Regions from separate parts of the Homo sapiens genome. Here regions 1 and 2 are each linked to region 3. Evidence: promoter capture Hi-C in 16 types of primary human blood cells and fetal thymus (Javierre and others, 2016). All regions are on one chromosome and are shown on one strand. The core of a region is centred on a gene start or on the middle of the fragment in contact, and the rest is flanking DNA. Distances in the headings are between cores, read along the strand shown. Region 1 has its middle 41 kb from the start of SLC25A5-AS1. Region 2 overlaps STEEP1 (STING1 ER exit protein 1). Region 3 holds the start of RNF113A (ring finger protein 113A).

Region 1 (3,959 bases), core at 947-3,446, 360 kb after region 3:
CTATTTGTGGAGGGCGGTGTCTGTAGATGGGGCAGCTGGCGTGCTTCCATCTGCCTAGAAAGCTGCAACCATCTCCACGGTAATAACTGGAACCAAAAATATCACACGGCTGTCTGCTAGGCCAGAACGTTCCTGTCTGTCTGCTCTCTGGAGGCTGAGGGTGGAGGAGACTTAAAAAGCCATATATTGCCGGGCACTGTGGCTCACGCCTGTAATCCCCACACTTTGGGAGGCCGAAGTGGGTGGATCACTTGAGGCCAGGAGTTTGAGACCAGCCTAGGCAACATGGTGGAACCCCGTGTCTACCAAAAAAGACAAAAATTAGCTGTGTGTGGTGATGCACGCCTGTAGTTCCAGCTACTGGGGAGGCTGAGGCACGAAAATCACTTGAACCCGGGAGGCAGAGGTTGCAGTGAGCAGAGGTCATGCCACTGCACTCCAGCCTGGGTGACAGAGCAAGACTCCATCTCAAAATAAAATAAAATAATAAGATATATATATTTCTATATATTTCTATATATATATTTCTATATATAGAAATATATATATTTTTATATATATATATAGCATCCCCAAGATTTAGAATCAGACAGACCTGGGTTTGAATCTTGATTTTTCTTCTTATTAACTGTGACCTCAGGCAAGTGGCTTAACTTCTCTAGGCCTCAGTCTCCTCATTAATAGAATGGGGAATAATAATACCTGCTTTTCTGGCTGTTCTGAGGATTTATTCACTCATTTGAAAGATAGTGGCATGCCTGTCCTACAGTTGTTACTAGGTTCAGGGGATACAAGAGATTCAACGCCTGGCACATAGTAAGTGCTGAATTAATGATAACTTGTTTTTGAAGGTCATGCCACGAATTTGGACTCAAAATAGCAGGCAGTTGAAAGCATTCTGAAAAGAGAAGTAGTAAGAAAAAAACACTACTTTTTTTTTTTCTTTCTCAGGCAGGGTCTCACTGTTGCCCAGGCTGAGTGCAATGGCACAATCATAGCTCACTGCAGCTTCGACCTCTTGGGTTCAAGCAGTCCTCCTGCCTCAGCCTTCCAAAGTGCTGGGATTACAGGCGTGAGCCACCATGCTCAGCAGGAAAACAATATTGAAGAGGCTTCACCCCTACCTGCAGTGTAGAGGCAGGATTGAAAAATGCCAGCCTTATCATTTTCATAGAGTTGTTCTGAACATCATAAAATAGGGCAGAGCAAGAGGCCTAAGACTAATAAATAGTCGGGAGTTGAACCCATATTGCAACTGGGGACAGGGACTGCTCCTAAAATCATAGGGCCACAGTCTGCCTCTCCCCTGGGAAGCAGCAAGGGGAAGGAGGGGCTGAGAAGAAGCCTTCTGTCTGCTCACTGGAAGCTGAGGGGCTTCATTTTGCCGATCACCTGGCCTGTCTTCGGGCAGTGGTTTCGGGATGTGGGAAGAAGGTGTGGGCGTGCATATGCAGCAGTGAGGATGTTTGAAGGATGTGAGAACACAAGAACATAAAATGCCACCCTGTGGCTGAGCCATGGATTCCTCTGACTCAGACAAGGTCATCATGGAACATGAAGACCCAAATGTCATCTTTGAGTCCTTTGGTAAACTATCAGGTGTGAGTTTATCCAAAGCTTTCAGAAATTGCAGTATTTCTTTTCACCCTGCCTCACCAATTGGGATGTTTTCCACACGTTTTCGCTTCCATTTAAAGATAAGTTATTTTATTAAAAACATACCTCTCTGGAAGAGCTCTACAAGGAGAACTACAAAACACTGCTGAAAGAAATCATAGATGACACAAACAAATGGAAACACATTCTATGCTCATGGATGGGTAGAATCAATATCGTGAAAATGACCATACTGCCCAAAGCAATCTACAGATTCAGTGCAATTCCTATCAAAATACCAACATCATTTTTCACAGAATCAGAAAAAATCCTAAAATTCATATGGAACTAAAAAAGAGCCAGAATAGCCAAAGCAATCCTAAGCAAAAAGAACAAATCTGGAGGTATCACATTACCGGACTTCAAATTATACTACAAGGCTATAGTTACCAAAACAAAATAGTACTGATATAAAAGTAGTTACATTAACTGGGCGCGGTGGCTCACATTTGTAATCCCAGCACTTTGGGAGGCCGAGGCTTGTGGATCACCTGAGGTCAGGAGTTCGAGACTAGGCTGGCCAACATGGTGAAACCTCATCTCTACTGAAAGTACGAAAATTAGCCAGGCATGGTGGTGCGTGCCTGTAATCCTAGCTACTCAGGAGGCTGAGGCAGGAGAATCACTTGAGCCTGGGAGGCAGAGATTGCGGTAGGTCAAGATCACGCCACTGCACTCCAGCCTGGGCAACAGGGAGAGACTGTCTCAAATAATAAAAATAAAATAAAATAAAAGTAGTTATATTAGACCAATGGAACAGAATAGAGAACCCAGAAATAAAGCCAAATACTTACAAACAACTGATATTTGACAAAGCATACGAAAACGTAAGTTGGGGAAAGGATACCCTATTCAATAAATGGTGCTGGGCAAACTGGCTAGCCCCATGTAGAAGAATGAAACTGTATCCCTATCTCTCACCTTATGCAAAAATCAACTTGAGATGGATCAAAGACTTAAATCTAAGACCTGAAATCATAAAAATTCTAGAAGAAAACCTAGGAAAAACTCTTCTGGACATTCTTTGCCTAGGCAGGCAAAGAATTTATGACTAAGACCCGAAAAGCAAATGCCACAAAAACAAAAATAAATGGGACCTAATTAAACTGAAAAGCTTCTTGCACAGCAAAAGAAAAAATCATCAGAGTAAACAGAACCCACAGAATGGAAGAAAATATTTGCAAACTATGCGTCCAACAAAGGAGTAATATACAGAATCTACAAGGAACTCAAACAAATCAGCAAGAAAACAAATAAACAAATAATCCCATTAAAAAGGGGGCAAATGACACGAAGAGACATTTCTCAAAAGAAGATATACAAACGGCCAACACACACATAAAAAATGCTCAACATCACTAATCATCAGGGAAATACAAATTAAAACCATAATGAGATACCACCTTACCCCAGCCAGAATGGCCATTATTATTATTATTATTATTGAGACAGAGTTTTGCTCTTGCCCTCCAGGCTGGAGTGCAGTGGCATGATCTCGGCTCACTGCAACCTCTGCCTCCCGGGTTCAAGCGATTCTCCTGAGGCTGAGGTGTGCGGATCACCTGAGGTCAGGAATACAAGACCAGCCTGGCCAACGTGGTGAAACCCCATCTCTACTAATGATACAAAAATTAGCCAGGCGTGGTGGCAAGCACCTGTAATCCCAGCTACTTGGGAGGCTGACACAGGAGAATCACTTGAACCCGGGAGGCGGAGGTTGCAGTGAGCTGAGATCGAGCCATTGCACTCCAACCTGGGTGACAAGAGCAAAACTCCATCTCCAAACAAAAAAAGAAAAAAAAAGAAAAAGAAAAAGAATGAAATAATGTCTTTTTCGGCAACTTGGATGGAGCTGGAGGCTGTTATTCTAAGTGAAGTAACTCAGGAATGGAAAACCAAATACTGTATGTTCTCACTCAGAAGTGAGAGCTAAGCTATCAGTACACAAAGGCATGTGGAGTGGTATGATGGACACTAGAGACTCAGAAAGGGGAGGGTGGGAGTGGGTGAAGGATAAAAAACTGTAAAATGGATACAATGTATACTACTTGGGTGATGGGTGCACTAAAATCTCAGAATTCACCACTATATAATCCATCCATGTAACCAAAAACCACTTGTACGCCAAAAGCCATTGAAATAAAAAAAATTAAAACAATAAAAAAGGTGAAAAAAAAAGAAAATAAAAACACACCTGTCCAAGCTAGGTGTGGTGGTGCATGCCTATAGTCCTAGATACTCAGGAGGCTGAGGGCGGAGGATTATTTGAGCCCAGAAGTTCGAGGTCAACCTGGGTGACATAG
Region 2 (3,566 bases), core at 632-3,131, 330 kb after region 3:
TTTTTCCTTCAGAGGGAAGTTGCTGACTCATATGCACAGAATGCCAAAGTGATTGAAAAACAGCTGGAGCGCAAAGGCATGAGCAAGAGGCGACTGCAAGAGCTGGTGAGTAGCAAGGGGTAGCAAGGTGCTGGGGCCCTATCATTTGGATGTCTTGGTCTGAAAGACCTTTCAGCAGGCAGGGAAATCTTTTAGGAAATCTGTTGGGAGGTTTTAGAGTAGTTGGCTGCCAGTTTTATAACCCTGGTCTGTGACTGTCAGTATACCCTACTCTGTAGTAGTGACCCCAGGATCTAGGCCTTAAATGATGATACTTGTTATAGCCCTAACTAGGATGATATTTTATTTTCTGTATTTTATTTTTATTTTATTTATTTATTTATTTTGGAGCTGGAATCTCACTTTGTCGCCCAGGCTGGAGTGCCGTGGCGTGGTCTCAGCTCACTGCAACCTCCGCCTCCCGGGTTCAAGGGATTCTCCTGCCTCAGCCTCCTGAGTAGCTGGGACTACAGGCACGTGCCACCACACCTGGCTAATTTTTGTATTTTTAGTAGAGATGGGGTTTCACCATGTTGGCCAGGCTGGTCTCGAACTCCTGACCTCAGGTGATCTGCCCGCCTCGGGCTCCCAAAGTACTGGGATTTCAGGCGTGAGCCACCACGCCAGGCCAGGATGATATTTTAATCTGCTTCTTGTGGTCCAAGATCAGGAGTTAAAGGTCAGGGTTTCTGGACGTTGTCCCAGGATGTAATGGCACATGATAGGGCTACCTTGGTAGTACCAGGATTGGGGCTGGTCATTGCTTCTTAAAGCACTGGTGGTTTTCTGCACTATTCATGGGCTCATCTTAGAGCATATGGATCTGTGTATGATGGTGCCTATGTATTTTTTTTTGACAATTACTTAAAATATTTCATCAAAATCAGATATCACTATGTTGGTGTCTCATCCAAAGGTATACCAGTCTCTTTGTGTCTGTAGTGAGTTTTTGGTGACAGAAGTGGTGGGTCCTGGGAGCTGCTTTACCTTGCCATAGTCGTTTAGAACAGTGCTTCTCAACCTTTCAAAGGCAGAAAGACCAGTGCTTTCCTTTTTTCAAATTTCCATGAACAGATTTGTAATTTATAAAATACAATAAAAATGAATTGTCTCAATTTTTATCAGATTTTAAAAATTACTATTGTGTCAAATTGCTATAAAAGCTTCTAAATGCTTACTATCCATTTTTGTACATATTTTGTGTGGACCAATAACAAATAGTTCATAGACCATATAACTTTAAGTAGCACTGTTGTAGAATGATGTTCTTCCTGTTCTGCCAAGAATAGCATACTGGTATGCCACAGTATTGGTTCCCTCAGCCTGTGGGGGGCGCTGGGGCTGCTGGAATCCCTGCGCTGATTTCCTGTGGCCACAGCCTTGTCTTTTTGCCCATTTTGCCTACAAATAGCATTTTTTGTGTATGTGCTATAACATCAGAAAGGTTGGAAAGTAGATGTTAGAGGTATATAATGATTTGGGAACCATGATTCTAGTTTGTACACTAAATGAACATTAAGGGAGAGTGTTTGGGTTGGTTAGAATAAGGAAGGAAAATAATTTCATGTCATGTATCAAGACATATGCTTTTTTTTTCTTTCTAGGCTGAATTGGAAGCCAAGAAAGCGAAAATGAAGGGGACCTTGATTGACAACCAGTTCAAATAACCAGGCCTTTTTCTAAGCCCTAGACTAGAGGCAAGCATTTAGATCAGGAGGCAAAGTAATTTCTTGATTACATAGACGGATTCCTATTTATGCCCTAGCAGAAGGCTTTACGTTGTTTCCCATTGATTCTCCTACATTCAGTGAGGTCTTTAACTGAGTCCATTTAACTTGCTTTCTTTTTTTTTTTTTTTTTTTTGAGATAAAGTCTTGCTCTTTCGCCCAGGATGGAGTGCAGTGGTGCGATCTCGGCTCACTGCAACCTCCGCCTCCCGGGTTCAAGCAGTTCTCCTGCCTCAGCCTCCTGAGTAGCTGGGATTACAGGCATGTGCCACCACGCCTGGCTAATTTTTGTATTTTTAGTAGAGACGGGTTCCACCATGTTGGCCAGGCTGGTCTCCAACTCCTGACCTCAAATGATCCACCCACCTAGGCCTCCCAAAGTGCTGGGATTACAGGAGTGAGCCACCGTGCCCAGCCTTGCCCTGCTTTCTAGGAGATGGAGTTTTCTGAATTTTTCTGTATTTAGGTTTTCTGTACTATTTTTTGTCCACTTGATGCAAACTTCTTCAGCTGTGTAGAAACTTTATGAATAGATGAGTGCTTGAGTGTCTCCAGTCTCTAAAGTGGCTGCTTTTATTCTTTCTTCAAAGTTAATAACATGTTGCAAGATTTTTGGACAAAATATTATGGTGTGTCATAGGAAAAGCACCATGAATTATATTTAGGTATAGCAAGTCAGATCCTTTGAAGTGACTCTGTCTCTGTTCTTAGAAGGGTTCTTGGAATTGGCTGTGGTTTGAATCTTTCTACTGTCAGAGGAGACCCATTAAAAGCCAGAATCTGCATAAAGCTTTCTTTACTTCAAACACTGAAGCTGTAGGCGAGCCATCCCGTATCGACTTTATACTCAAAGAAGGAAAAGCCAGATTGCAGTGAGTGGGTAGGACAGCTCAGATCCAAATGAAAGTAGGGTCTCAAGTAACCCAAGGGTGGCCGGGTACGGTGGCTCACGCCTGTAATCCTAGCAGTTTGGGAGGCAGAGGCGGGCAGATTGCCTGAGCTCAGGAGTTTGAGACCAGCCTGGGCAACATGGTGAAACCCTGTCTCTACTAAAATACAAAAGAAATTAGCCAGGTGTGGCGGCATACCCCTGTAGTCACGGCTACTTGGGAGGCAGAGGCAGGAGAATTGCTTGAACTCGGGAGGTGGAGGTTGCAGTGAGCTGAGATTGCACCACTGTACTCCAGCACTCCAGCCTGGGCGACAGAGTGAGACTCTGTCTCTACAAAAAAAAAAAAAAAAAAAAGTAACCCAAGGGAGGGAGCTACCCTCTAGTCGGGCAGCTGATACTGCTTCCTTGCATGGATACATGGGAGGGAGACGTTATAGATTAAGAAATGATAGCAAGATAAACAAAATGATTTGTTGGGTATCTTTTACTTTACATTTGTTATTTGCAGAGGAGTGTTGTATATATAGATGTTATTTTATGTCACACTGCTTCAATGATACCTATATCCATGTGTTTGTATCCATGTTTTTATCCATTCAACTGTATTAAAAGGTGTTGGGACAGGAGTTGTGTTAACCTTCTTGTATTATCTACAAAAAGTTGCACTTAGTAGGTGCCCAAGGCAGGTTCGTGAGGTGCTACCGGGAGATGATAGTAGGATAGTAGGGCAGGTTTTTTTTTGTTTGTATGTTTTTGTTTTTGTTTGGTTTGTTTGTTTGTTTTGCTTTTTTTCTGATCTCCTTATTTGCAAGGCAAAGTAGGTTAGATGTGAGCTAGCAAGAACTGGGAAAAAGAGGGGTGGGGGTCCCAGGAAGGCCCAGGATGGGGCTGTGTTACCTTCTTCCCAG
Region 3 (3,729 bases), core at 739-3,238:
GACAAACAGCAGACTGGGAAAAATGTCATATATAAAATAGACAAAAAAATTAAAGTCTAGAATATATAAAGAACCATAGCTCAAAAAGAAAAAGACAATGGAACAGGCAAAGGATATAGGCAACAATCCACAGAATAAGAAATATATGACAGAAGAAAAACTAAAAAAAAAAAAGAAATATAAAAGATTAAATATGTAAAAAGATGCCAACCTCACTAGTAGATAAGAAAATGCTAGTTATATATTAGCACTGTATGACCCTTGGCAAGGCATTACCAGAACCCACCTCAACCCTGGCAAAAGGCTGGCATCAGAGTGGCATCTTACCTTTGACACATAGTAACGATCAACTCCAGAGATGCGCCTATCTCTTTCCATCAGACTCCAGTGATACCCAAAATGAGCAACCCTTTTTTCCTTCAAATAAGAGACAATTATTGTTGCAGTTTATAAAAGTGAGTGACCCAATTGATAGATACTACAATTTTTAAAAGGGACATTCCAGAGAAATGGAATCATCGTTTAAATAAAAATGCAAATTAGTAGTACAAAGAACAGAATCTCCTAAATAAAATCAGACCACTAAACTTTAGGATTAAGTTGGTACCTGTGACTTTTTACACTATTTTAACCAACATGAATTTTTTTTCCTTTTTTTTTAAAAAAAAAAAAAAAGAAATATCTAGTTGTTGTCTTTTGGGACACTAAGAAACAACAGCTGTAGATCACACGTGAAGAACAATAACAAAATCAAAAAGTAAATAAATTTATATCCTGTACTCTTGAGATGATGTGAAGGACTAGGAAGAGGGGAAAATGAATCCTGATGTAAAAAAACAAGATCTCGCAGTAAATTCCTAAAGGCTTGCAAGAGAAAGTGGGGAATAAAAAAGTCAAGGGTGGCCGGTCGCGGCGGCTCACGCCTGTAATCCCAGCACTTTGGGAGATCAAGGCGGGTGGATCAACCGAGGTCAGAAGTTCGAGACCAGCCTCGCCAACATGATGAAACCCCGCCTCTACAAAAAAAAAAAAAAAGCCAGGCGTGGTCCCGGCTACTCGGGAGGCTGAAGCAGGAAAATTTCTTTCTTTATTTATTTTTTTTTGAGACGGAGTTTCGCTCTTGTTGCCCAGGCTGGAGTGCAGTGGCGCGATCTCGGCTCATCGCAACCTCCGCCTCCTGGGTTCAAGTGATTCTCCTGCCTCAGCCTCCCGAGTAGCTGGGATTACAGGCATGCGCCACCACGCCCAGCTAATTTTGTATTTTTAGGAGAGACGGGGTTTCTCCATGTTGGTCAGGCTGGTATCGAACTCCCGACCTCAGGTGATCCGCTCGCCTCGGTCTCCCAAAGTGCTGGGATTACAGGCGTGATCCACCGCGCCCAACCAGGAGAATCTCTTGAACCCAGAAGGCGGAGGTTGCAGTGAGCGATTCTCAGGCTTGAGCCACCTTTTCTAATCTACCTTCCCGGCCCCCGCGTCGCTACTCTGCCCTAAGGCCCACTCTGATACACCCAGAAACGCTGTTTTTCACTAGAGCAGGATGTAGTTTCTATCGGGCTTCGTTTCGCAAGCCTCGGCTTCTAGGCAACCGGAAGCAAGTAGAGGGCCGACCTCGGAGAGAGGGTTCGCAGGCTGACGGTCTCCCTGCCCACCACCCTTTTCGGAAATCAGCCCGTGGAGTCGGCCCCCGGGCCGAAGCCGGCTTACCTTGCCCCCGTTAGTGAACCTGTGGATGTACGCAGTAGCCAGTCCTGGAATCAACAAGCACACGCCCATGACGGAGAGTCCGGGGAGAATCTCGAACCACATCTCTGCCCCGTTACCTAGGCCAAAACCCTACTTCTGGGTCCTTGAAAGGTGACCTGGCTTCGCCTCTCTTCCCAGCAAGCCCCGCGGCCGCCCGCGAGCGGGGCGGTGCCACGTACGGCTCCGGAAGAAGCGACGGAATCTGCTAGGGCACAAGAGAGACGGGCGCTCGGGCTCTCGCAGTCCTCTTCCGTCAGTGTCTTTTGCTTCGACTCCCGGCGGAGCGCGCAACGTGGAGTGACGTGCAGGGGCCAAGTGCAACCCAGGCAGCCACGGCTGTTTCGGAGCTCAGGACTCTAAAATGGCAGAGCAGCTTTCTCCAGGAAAGGCGGTGGATCAGGTGTGCACCTTCCTTTTCAAAAAGCCTGGGCGGAAAGGGGCTGCTGGACGCAGAAAGCGCCCGGCCTGCGACCCAGAGCCCGGAGAAAGCGGCAGCAGTAGCGACGAAGGCTGCACTGTGGTTCGACCGGAAAAGAAGCGGGTGACCCACAATCCAATGATACAGAAGACCCGTGACAGTGGTAAACAGAAGGCGGCTTACGGCGACTTGAGCAGCGAAGAGGAAGAGGAAAATGAGCCCGAGAGTCTCGGCGTGGTTTATAAATCCACCCGTTCGGCGAAACCCGTGGGACCAGAGGATATGGGAGCGACAGCTGTCTATGAGCTGGACACAGAGAAAGAGCGCGATGCACAAGCCATCTTTGAGCGCAGCCAGAAGATCCAGGAGGAGCTGAGGGGCAAGGAGGATGACAAGATCTATCGGGGAATCAACAATTATCAGAAATACATGAAGCCCAAGGATACGTCTATGGGCAATGCCTCTTCCGGGATGGTGAGGAAGGGCCCCATCCGAGCGCCCGAGCATCTACGTGCCACCGTGCGCTGGGATTACCAGCCCGACATCTGTAAGGACTACAAAGAGACTGGCTTCTGCGGCTTCGGAGACAGCTGCAAATTCCTCCATGACCGTTCAGATTACAAGCATGGGTGGCAGATCGAACGTGAGCTTGATGAGGGTCGCTATGGTGTCTATGAGGATGAAAACTATGAAGTGGGAAGCGATGATGAGGAAATACCATTCAAGTGTTTCATCTGTCGCCAGAGCTTCCAAAACCCAGTTGTCACCAAGTGCAGGCATTATTTCTGCGAGAGCTGTGCACTGCAGCATTTCCGCACCACCCCGCGCTGCTATGTCTGTGACCAGCAGACCAATGGCGTCTTCAATCCAGCGAAAGAATTGATTGCTAAACTAGAGAAGCATCGAGCTACAGGAGAGGGTGGTGCTTCCGACTTGCCAGAAGACCCCGATGAGGATGCAATTCCCATTACTTAGGTTTCCCATAATTCTTAAATTTAAAAAATAAACGTTTTGTTCTTTTGGAAGTCTTACTTCGTGTCCTTCCTTTGTAGAGAAAGTGACAGAGCAGGCGGGTGGTGAAGTAGGGTCCTGGATTAAAAGCTTCAAGGTAGGTATAATCAGGATTTTTAGCCCTAGGATAACCATTTTGCCTGTGTTTCTTTTCAGAACACTTTGGCATAAATTATAGGGGTGGGAGTAGTTTGAGAAAAGAGCTATAATTTGCTCGAAGTAACCAAAGCCATGATGAAAGCAAGACCTCTGAGCCTGTTTATTATATCACATTTCTGTATCACTTAATAGTTTACAAAGTACTTTCATGCATTCTTTCTCTTGGGAGCCTGTACTACAAAATATACCCGAGCCAAGGTGTTGGGGAGAGGGGTTGTGTTTGGGGAACTGGTAGCTAGCACCACAGGCTTCACATATGGGAAATGTTCCTTGCTGTCTTGGTTATTTATTTATTTATTTGTTTTTGAGACGGAGTCTCGCTCTCTTGCCCAGGCTAGAGTGCAGTGGCGCGATCTCAGCTCACTGCAACCTCCGCCTCCCCGGTTCAAGCGATT

What was found. Contacts are between HindIII fragments. The CHiCAGO score rates a contact against its expected background, and 5 or more counts as called.
Region 1: a fragment that was not itself captured here is called in contact with the fragment with the promoter of RNF113A in region 3 in 7 of 17 cell types (total CD4 T cells, fetal thymus, naive CD8 T cells and 4 more); the score reaches 6.9 in total CD4 T cells.
Region 2: a contact is called between a fragment that was not itself captured here and the fragment with the promoter of RNF113A in region 3, in 5 of 17 cell types (non-activated CD4 T cells, neutrophils, naive CD4 T cells and 2 more). The highest score is 5.9, in non-activated CD4 T cells.

What each region holds. Positions count from the first base shown.
Region 1 is chrX:119,508,443-119,512,401 of GRCh38, reverse strand. No RefSeq gene overlaps it. Among named protein-coding and RNA genes, the nearest start is that of SLC25A5-AS1, 41 kb to the right of the region's middle. The HindIII fragment of the contact is 1,153 bases long and covers 1,620-2,772 here.
Region 2 is chrX:119,537,867-119,541,432 of GRCh38, reverse strand. It overlaps STEEP1 (STING1 ER exit protein 1), which reads left to right. Exons shown (of 7, transcript NM_022101.4): 6 at 13-105; 7 at 1,644-3,284. The coding sequence ends at 1,706. Among named protein-coding and RNA genes, the nearest start is that of STEEP1, 26 kb to the left of the region's middle. The HindIII fragment of the contact is 1,354 bases long and covers 1,205-2,558 here.
Region 3 is chrX:119,869,992-119,873,720 of GRCh38, reverse strand. RNF113A (ring finger protein 113A) reads left to right here and starts at 1,988. Exons shown (of 1, transcript NM_006978.3): 1 at 1,988-3,246. The coding sequence starts at 2,108. The coding sequence ends at 3,139. NDUFA1 (NADH:ubiquinone oxidoreductase subunit A1) reads right to left here and starts at 1,889. Exons shown (of 3, transcript NM_004541.4): 1 at 1,708-1,889; 2 at 328-417. The coding sequence starts at 1,809. RefSeq lists an enhancer at 1,566-2,275. The HindIII fragment of the contact is 12,659 bases long and covers 1-3,267 here.